2 separate regions of the Homo sapiens genome follow, and region 2 is linked to region 1. Evidence: promoter capture Hi-C in 16 types of primary human blood cells and fetal thymus (Javierre and others, 2016). All regions are on one chromosome and are shown on one strand. Each heading gives the region's core, a stretch centred on a gene start or on the middle of the fragment in contact. The rest is flanking DNA. Distances are from core to core; before and after follow the strand shown. Region 1 holds the start of OSGEP (O-sialoglycoprotein endopeptidase). Region 2 overlaps CBLN3 (cerebellin 3 precursor).

Region 1 (4,943 bases), core at 118-2,617:
CAACCTCTGTCTCCCGGGTTCACGCAATTCTCCTGCCTCAGCCTCCCAAGTAGCTGGGTTTACAGGCATGCGCCACCACGCCCAGTTAATTTTTTGTATTTTTTAGTGGAAACATGGTTTCTCCATGTTGGTCAGGCTGGTCTCGAACCCCGACCTCAGGTGATCTGCCTGCCTTGGCCTCCCAAAGTGCTGGGATTACAGGCGTGAGCCACCACGCCCAGCCGTGTTTGGTACTTTCATCTAATCTTCAAGACCTAATGATACAGGTATTATTCCCATTTTAAAAACAAAGACCAGGCCCGAGCGGTGGCTCATGCCTGTAATTTCCACACTTTGGGAGGCTGGGGTGGGCGGATCATCTGAGGTCAGGAGTTCGAGACCAGCTTGGCCTGGTGGAAACCCCGACTCTACTAAAAATACAAAATTTAGCTGGATGTGGTGGCGCACACCTATAGTCCTAGCTACTTGGGAGGCTGGGGTAGAAGAATCGCTTGAACCTGGAAGGCAGAGATTGCAGTGAGCCGAGATCGTGCCACTGCATTCCAGCCTGGGCGACAGAGCAAGACTCTGTCTCAAAAAAATAAAATAAAATAAAAAATAAAGACCAAATGTCCAAAACAAAAATATTTAATATGAATATAGCAAAGCCAGCCAGTTCTGTCTGACATGTAAGCCGGGAGTCTTTCCACTCTCATCTCTCTACTCATCCTAGAATATTTCAAAAAATAATTTTTTTTTAAAAAGGGAGTGTATATTCAGGGCAACTGGAATCTATACTCCTGCTAAGCGTTTTTTAAACAGAATATTTCGAGTCCATCTCTATTATACTGTTTATCATGCTGTAGTATAAACATCTATTTATATGTCTGACTCCACAGCAGTATAACATCTATTTCTGAATACTTAGCACATAAAATGCGCTCAGTAAAAGGTAAATGAACTCATCAGATCCACGTCCAAGTGCCTGTAACTCTTCTAGTCATCAGCCTTGTGACGTTAATAATGTCACATAATTTCAATGAGACTCGGATCGAAAGCTGCACCTCACTAGTATTTAGGAAGATGGAAGGCTGATTCTGTGCGGGGAAGTGCGCGGAAAACTCTTAAGTCCCCTACTCACCAACCTGTGCCAGGAGGCGTGACGTAAGTCCGCCGCGGGTTCGCCAGCACCTTGCCATCCCGCACCACGCCCACGCCAATCTTATTGGCGCTGCCTTCAAAACCCAGCACCGCCGGCATGGCGGAGGCTGGGAGAAAACGCCGACAGGACTCCTGGCAATGTCAGGAGCTGTGGAGGTCCTCACTAGTCCGCGCTGGGCCGCAGCTTTCCGGAGCGCAGAGGAAGCTGGCCAGCCTGCAGATAGCACTGGGAAAGACACCGCGGAACTCCCGCGAGCGGAGACCCGCCAAGGCCCCTCCAGGGACCTGTCTTCCTAACTGCCAGGGACGCCGAGCCAACTCTGTGCCTTACATTCGTATCCGTTTTCCTATCTCTTTCCCGTGGTCCAGCCCAGCCTTCTCCACTGTTTTTTTCCCTCTTGCACATAGTTAGAATCTTAAGTCAGTGTCACACAATGTGCTGTGCATCTGGCACAACGATAAACAGCCCGAGGGAGGGTTGGGGACCTAAGTGTCCTAGAGAATTAGAGGAGGGAGGCGAGGCTAAGCGTCTCCGTCACGTGGTGTCAGACAGACCAATCACGCGCATTCTTCGGCCACGACAAGCGCGCCTCTGATCACGTGACCAGGTCCGCTACCCACGTGGGGGCTCAGCGTGCACCCTTCTTTGTGCTCGGGTTAGGAGGAGCTAGGCTGCCATCGGGCCGGTGCAGATACGGGGTTGCTCTTTTGCTCATAAGAGGGGCTTCGCTGGCAGTCTGAACGGCAAGCTTGAGTCAGGACCCTTAATTAAGATCCTCAATTGGCTGGAGGGCAGATCTCGCGAGTAGGGTACAAGGCACTATGAAATGATCTAGTTTCGTGGGTGAGGGGCTGAAGGGCCTATGATGCACGGAGGCGGGGAAAGGATTTAGAGATAACGTGGTTTGAAAGGCGGGACCTGGTGCGGGGACGCTCTTGGGAGGAGTCTTCTCCCCAGCCTTAGCTGGTTTCATGATTTCTTTGCGTCTGTAGGCAACGCGGTAAAAATATTGCTTCGGTGGGTGACGCGGTACAGCTGCCCAAGGGCGTTCGTAACGGGAATGCCGAAGCGTGGGAAAAAGGGAGCGGTGGCGGAAGACGGGGATGAGCTCAGGACAGGTAAGGGAATGAAATCAGCCCTTCTTCCTAGAAGCTGCGGCGGGGGTGTTTGTCATTCCCTTGATGTACGGTAAGTACGGGCCGACTCATTTTTGCAGGGGTTTGTGAAGAAGTCGCAGGAACCGTAGGCTTTCGTTGGGTCTATAGTTAACGCCGGATCGCAGTTGGAAACCACCAGCTTTTTGTCAGTATATATTACTCATTTTATAGAGCCAGAGGCCAAGAAGAGTAAGACGGCCGCAAAGAAAAATGACAAAGAGGCAGCAGGAGAGGGCCCAGCCCTGTATGAGGACCCCCCAGATCAGAAAACCTCACCCAGTGGCAAACCTGCCACACTCAAGATCTGCTCTTGGAATGTGGATGGGCTTCGAGCCTGGATTAAGAAGAAAGGATTAGATGTGAGTGGAATTTGAGGGAAAGAGACATTTTTTAGTATTGAATGGTCTTAGGGTTTAGTCACCCCTTTTCTCCGTTTAGCCTTCAGGCTGTTTTATTTTTCTCCTGCCCGTAGTTTTCTGTGGGGCTTCCCCAGTCTTGCCAGTTGTATTTCCTAAATGTCTGTTCCTTCACTTCCATTGCCATTTTCTTTTTTAGTGTTCTCTCCTCTTCCCAGAATGTTGCAAAAACCTCTTCACTATACTTCCTCCATTTTATCTTCCTGCATTGCATTCCATATGAAGCATGTCCTCCATTCCATTAACCATAGCTTAAAAATCTTAGCTTGCTATCCACTGCCTATAGAAAAAACACATCTCCTTGGCATAGCATGTAAGACTTTCTTACCTCTCTATATTTGTTTTCATTTATCTAGCTTAGAATTGTTTGAATATTGTGCTGCTTGACTCGAACTCCTTAGGCCAAGAGACTGTTTAACCCGTGCGTATCTATGACTTAGCATATAGATTATTCAATAAATGTTCTGCTGAATTGATAATACGTTTTCCACCTTTCTTTTCACTTACAGTGGGTAAAGGAAGAAGCCCCAGATATACTGTGCCTTCAAGAGACCAAATGTTCAGAGAACAAACTACCAGCTGAACTTCAGGAGCTGCCTGGACTCTCTCATCAATACTGGTCAGCTCCTTCGGACAAGGAAGGGTACAGTGGCGTGGGCCTGCTTTCCCGCCAGTGCCCACTCAAAGTTTCTTACGGCATAGGTGAGACCCTATTGATGCCTAATGCCTGAACTCTTCAAAACCAATTGCTAATTCTCTATCTCTGCCCCACCTCTTGATTGCTTTCCCTTTTCTTATAGTTTTTTATGCTAATTCTGTTTCATTTCTATAGGCGATGAGGAGCATGATCAGGAAGGCCGGGTGATTGTGGCTGAATTTGACTCGTTTGTGCTGGTAACAGCATATGTACCTAATGCAGGCCGAGGTCTGGTACGACTGGAGTACCGGCAGCGCTGGGATGAAGCCTTTCGCAAGTTCCTGAAGGGCCTGGCTTCCCGAAAGCCCCTTGTGCTGTGTGGAGACCTCAATGTGGCACATGAAGAAATTGACCTTCGCAACCCCAAGGGGAACAAAAAGAATGCTGGCTTCACGCCACAAGAGCGCCAAGGCTTCGGGGAATTACTGCAGGCTGTGCCACTGGCTGACAGCTTTAGGCACCTCTACCCCAACACACCCTATGCCTACACCTTTTGGACTTATATGATGAATGCTCGATCCAAGAATGTTGGTTGGCGCCTTGATTACTTTTTGTTGTCCCACTCTCTGTTACCTGCATTGTGTGACAGCAAGATCCGTTCCAAGGCCCTCGGCAGTGATCACTGTCCTATCACCCTATACCTAGCACTGTGACACCACCCCTAAATCACTTTGAGCCTGGGAAATAAGCCCCCTCAACTACCATTCCTTCTTTAAACACTCTTCAGAGAAATCTGCATTCTATTTCTCATGTATAAAACTAGGAATCCTCCAACCAGGCTCCTGTGATAGAGTTCTTTTAAGCCCAAGATTTTTTATTTGAGGGTTTTTTGTTTTTTAAAAAAAAATTGAACAAAGACTACTAATGACTTTGTTTGAATTATCCACATGAAAATAAAGAGCCATAGTTTCAGCCTTGCTGTCTTCGTGTCTTACCCCTTCGTGGGGCTACACATTCTCTTCCTCATATTTTCATGCACACAAGTTAACAACTGAAAAAGCGTAGAGTCATGACCTTATTTATTTACAAGCACAGGATAAGTCCCTAACCTCCCCCAAAGACTGAGCAACCCTACCCAGCCCAGTTAAATACTGCAACTGGGGGGGTAAAAAAGGTCGGGAGGAGGAATTAAGGGAAATACAGGAATAGGGGAACATATCCCACATTAAATAGTTATATACACATCAGTTCCTGTGGTTCTGTACAGAGCAGCGGCTGACCCCACCCCCACAGGACACAATGTGGGGAGAGGAGACTGAGGGTACTGAGGCCAGAGCCAACCTCTGGTGAAGTGCAATAGCAGCAGCAAAGTCCTAATGGTGCACAAGAGGGAGGGGAACCCCCAGGGCTACCCACCCCCACCCTGCCCTGGAATGTGTAAGGGACAGGAATGGCTCTCAGGGAGCACACAGGAAGGACAAGGCTGGAACCGTCTTCAGGGCCCAGTTTTAAGGGCAACGTTTTGCCTACTTCACCCTAGACACAGCAACCCTTGGAGGAAAGCAGATGGTCAGCAGTGCTCTTATCTGCCC
Region 2 (4,309 bases), core at 53-2,552, 4.0 Mb after region 1:
GAGACAGGCAGGAGGAAGCAGAGATGGGGAGGAAGGTGAGTTTGTAAGTGTGGTGGTGGGCAGGGTCCTGCTTGGAGTTTCTGTGTTCTCAGTGAGGTGGAAGGTGAGGCTGTCTGCCGCTGACCATGGGCCATGGGAGCAGAACTGGTGGGGCAAAAGGCTTAAGGAGGGAACAGAAGCTGGCAGTGGATTCTGGGGAAGATGAGGGGCAGCTGGCAAAGGAAACCAGTGAAGAGTTAGAGGATTGAGGATTATAGGATTGAGGACCAGATGTGGCTGGAGGCCATGGATTTAGATCCACATTGAATCCTTCATCAGTGGGACTTCTCTGTAGGAATCAGCTGCCAGGGCATGGGCATAGGGAAGGTGAATAGTTGGAGTCTGTTGTTAGGATCCTTAAAGTCTGAGGAGCTTTTGGTACCTGGAGAGGACCACACACCATCACCTGTGCTTTATTTATTGTTTAATCTATTCACAAACCTACTGAAGGAAAAATTGTCTAAATATTTGAACACGATTTCTATAACCAGCAAATCAAAATCTATACATTTAACAAGTTAAATGATTTAAACGTTGATTAAAAACAATCAAATCCTCCTAAATATTTCAACTGAATCACTAATATGTCAGTTTCTCTAAAAGCTTCATTTTGGTAAGGGACACATACCATTATAAGGATTATAAAGTTTATAACACCTATGCTTAAATCCACTATAAAAATGGGTGGTAGACCTGAGAGACATTATCTCAGCTCAGGGCAATTTTTGAATTTAGATATCTAAAATAAAAATATATCTCAATGTAGATCAAGTTTTGGATTATTAATCAATGAATTTTTGGTTGGGACCTGGGAATTGGTTCACCTTCTAAAATGATTAAAATCTGAGCTGGTATTTATCTTGTATATATCATGGGAAATTTTCAAGCCCATACGTTTTCCATGCAGTGGTATTGTAGCTGCATGCCTTTTCTCTACATGATGCCATCTTTGAGTTTAGTGACTCTGATATGCAGATGTCCTGAAGATGTCCATGCCTTAATCCCTGGAACCTGTGAATATGTTATGTTACATGGCAAAACGAACTTCAAATATGCAATTCAGGTTGTGGACCTTAAAATAGGGAGATTATCCTGGCTTATCTGGGTGGGCCTAATCACACGAGTCCCTAAACTCAGAGAACTTTCTACACTGAAGTCAGAGAGATGTGGTAGAAAGGTAGGCCTGAGAGATTTAAAGTGTGAGAAGGACTTGGCTTGCAGTTGTTGGCTTGAGAATGGAGGGGGCTAGGACCTAAGTCCTACAACCGTAAGGAACTGAACTTTAAATGAGTTTAGAAGTGGATTCTTCCCCTCCAGTAAGGAAGGCTGCCCTGCTTATACTTTGCTTTTGATCTTGTGAAACCCTGAGCAGAGAAGCCAGTCACGTTTTGTTGGACTTCTGACCCACAGAAACTGTGAGGTAATAAACAGTTGTTTTAAGCCACCAAGTTGGTAGTACTTTGTGGCCAGATGTGGTAGCTCACACCTGTAATCAGATCACGTGAGGCCAGGAGTTTGATACCAGCCTGGACAACATGGCGAAACCCCATCTTTACTAAAAATACAAAAAATTAGCTGGGTGTGGTGGCTCGCACCTGTAATCCCAGCTACTCGGGAGGCTGAGGCATGAGCATTGCTTGAACCCAGGAGGTGGAGGTTGCAGTGAGCTGAAATTGCACCACTGCACTCCGGCCTGGTCGACAGAGCATGACTCTGCCTCAAAAAACAACAATAAAAAACAACTTCTAGTTGTCTTCCCCAATAGCTAATTTCCCCTTCTTCCTTGTTATAAAACTCCCAACTTCTGGCTGGACATGGCTGCCTGGAATAAACACTGTAGCTCCTAGCCAAGCTCCCTGGCTTGGTGAGCCCGGGTGACTAAATTCTACTGAGACACAATCAGAAATATTGGTGCATATTTCAGAAAGCTTCTTTCAAGGAAAGAGATGTGTTGTTTCTTCCTTCCTCCTTCCTGTTAGGCTGATGTAATGTCTGGAGCTCAGGGAGCCGTCTTGGGTCATGAGGTGGCAAGCTAAGGATGGTAGAACAAGACAGAAGACTGGGCTTTCAAATGATCATAAGGCTGCCATCCATCCCTGGACTCTTATTTACAGATTTTTCTATGTGAGACAAAAATGATTTCCTATTTTGTTTAAGCTATTCTTATTTTGGGTTTTACTGTTACAGCCAAACCTACTCTTAATCATTTTGCCTAATTAATATCTCATTATAATTAGTGGGGTAATACAGAGGATCCATTTTCTAGGAGATGAACGATCAAGCCTGAGCAGTGAACAGTTGTCTTTTGGACATCTGACTAATCCATTGTCTTATAACACGCCATTGGACTGTTTTTCTTCTTAGTTGCAAAATATACTCAAATAGTTCCACCAGTATCTTTCATTCTTGGCACAGTGCCAGATCTTCTTGGAATTATTCACAGTTCTCTGTACTCACCCCTCCCTACTTACATAGATAAAGAAAAACAAATGTACCTTGCAAATAGACAAAATGCCTACTATATTTATGTTCTTGTACTTATCACGACTCACTAAAAATAGCCTATATTCACTCTTCTTCACTCAGCATATTAACTACTTTTTGTCACACTTTATAGTGACTTCTTCCTTTTTGAATATCATTGCAGGTACATGGATTTAAAAAATTCACCTTGTTCCAATTAACTGTATTATTTTCCTTTTGATAATCAAATTGTCAAAGCATGTCAAGTGGGAGCTTCTTTAAATTGATTCCTTTGCCTTTTCAGCTTTACTTTATACATTTAAAAAGTATCTTTGCTTTCTGTCATCAACAACATGTTCTGGGCCTGGAGTTACTTAAGGTGTGCAGCTATTCTCCAAGGAACCTGAGGGTTTTTGGTATTTTTTTTTAATGGTGACTAATATCTGAAGCAAAGATCCAGTTTCTAAGAATGGATATCAGATTGTTCCTGATGTTGTTTTTAGGATTAGTGACAGTTCAAAAAGTTATTTCTTTTCAAAACCACAAATTCACCTTGGTATTTCCTATTTAACTCAAACATTATTCAACTTTTAAAATGTAATTTTAGTATACAGTTTGATATTTATTTTCCTCTGCAACATACCTACTTGTACCTGTAACACCCGATCCAAACTCCAGAGGCATCTTCTCCTTAGTAATTCTATAGTGTCTCACTGACCACCATTCTCTAGTTGTTTTATTGATAGATTCATCCAGGCTGGGCCAATGGGACAGCGGGATAAGAAAGAGAGAGGGAGGGTTTAGCATACTGGCAGGAGAGGGTCTGAAGGAATGAATCATGGAATCCCAGGTAATAGGAAGCCTAAGGAGGAGAATAAGACAGCACAGATCAGGAGAAAGAGAGATAGTGGGGATATGCTGGAACAGGTACAGTGAAGATAACTCAGTGAGAGAGCTGGGAGGAAGGAGGCAGCAGTCAGAGTGTGGAGGGACTAAAGTTCAAACTTCAAAGGTGGAGCAGTTTCAGGAGGTGGCCAAGCAAGAGGATGCATGGTTATCGATGTTTTCCATGGTCCACTTCCAGCTCTGTATACCTGCTCTCAGCTCTGCTCTCAGCCAGAGCAAACACACTCACCCTAATCTCAGGTGGGGAGGTAAGGGCCAGAGTCCATCTGGGATCCAGCATAGAAGGACAGCCAGGATTGCTACCTGCTGGCTGCTCTGCTATACATGCAGAATGTGTACCATGTTCAGTCTAGACAATACACCCTCCTTCCTTCCTCACCAGCCACAGACTCCAGGCCCTTCCCACCCTTCTGCCTGTGGCTGAGCCTCCCACCCTAGCCCATACGGTGCTGGTTCAGCTTCTGACGGTGCTGGCTGAGATCCGTGATGCTGGCTTTCCTCACAGGAAGAAGCCTGCAGGGTACGCTGAGGCTTGTCCATCTGGGCTCCTGTGGGGGCCTGTCAGGCTCACCTGCGCCACCTGTCCCTGATCAGCATTGAGCAGGAAGCTGGGGTGGGGGAACCGGAGGAGCAGAGGCCGCAAAGTAGTGCAGATCTTCCTTCTTGCCAAACCTTGCCCTGATCCTAGGGCTGCAGGCAGGAACAGATGCAGCAGGTGGCTGGGAGGGTAACTGGGGGTGGGTGGGTGGAAAGGCCTGGTCTGGAGATGCCACAGCTCTACTCTTCTCTTAAACTTGGGTGTTTGGCACAGGGTCCCATGCAAAGAGGTGGGATAGGAGCCAGAGGGAGTCTCTCTCCTGCCTCTGCTGTTTCTGGGGCAAGAGAGGGCAGAAGAAAGTTG

What was found. The method cuts DNA at HindIII sites, captures the fragments that hold promoters and counts their contacts. A CHiCAGO score of 5 or more calls a contact.
Region 2: a contact is called between a fragment that was not itself captured here and the fragment with the promoter of OSGEP in region 1, in 1 of 17 cell types (M0 macrophages). The highest score is 7.3, in M0 macrophages.

What each region holds. Positions count from the first base shown.
Region 1 is chr14:20,453,445-20,458,387 of GRCh38, forward strand. It overlaps OSGEP (O-sialoglycoprotein endopeptidase), which reads right to left and starts at 1,368. Exons shown (of 11, transcript NM_017807.4): 1 at 1,125-1,368. The coding sequence starts at 1,239. It overlaps APEX1 (apurinic/apyrimidinic endodeoxyribonuclease 1), which reads left to right and starts at 1,782. Exons shown (of 5, transcript NM_001641.4): 1 at 1,782-1,950; 2 at 2,134-2,259; 3 at 2,470-2,657; 4 at 3,224-3,416; 5 at 3,547-4,323. The coding sequence starts at 2,202. The coding sequence ends at 4,064. PIP4P1 (phosphatidylinositol-4,5-bisphosphate 4-phosphatase 1) reads right to left here. Exons shown (of 7, transcript NM_144568.4): 7 at 4,237-4,943. RefSeq lists silencers at 1-18, 3,646-3,940, promoters at 1,281-1,725, 1,355-1,892, 1,557-1,891, enhancers at 1,316-1,405, 1,826-2,045 and cis regulatory regions at 1,352-1,682, 1,613-1,768, 1,639-1,680, 1,677-1,682, 1,693-1,725 and 2 more. The HindIII fragment of the contact is 3,687 bases long and covers 1-1,887 here.
Region 2 is chr14:24,423,442-24,427,750 of GRCh38, forward strand. It overlaps CBLN3 (cerebellin 3 precursor), which reads right to left. Exons shown (of 3, transcript NM_001039771.3): 3 at 3,104-4,309. It also overlaps a transcript of KHNYN not described here. Among named protein-coding and RNA genes, the nearest start is that of CBLN3, 4.1 kb to the right of the region's middle. The HindIII fragment of the contact is 1,325 bases long and covers 641-1,965 here.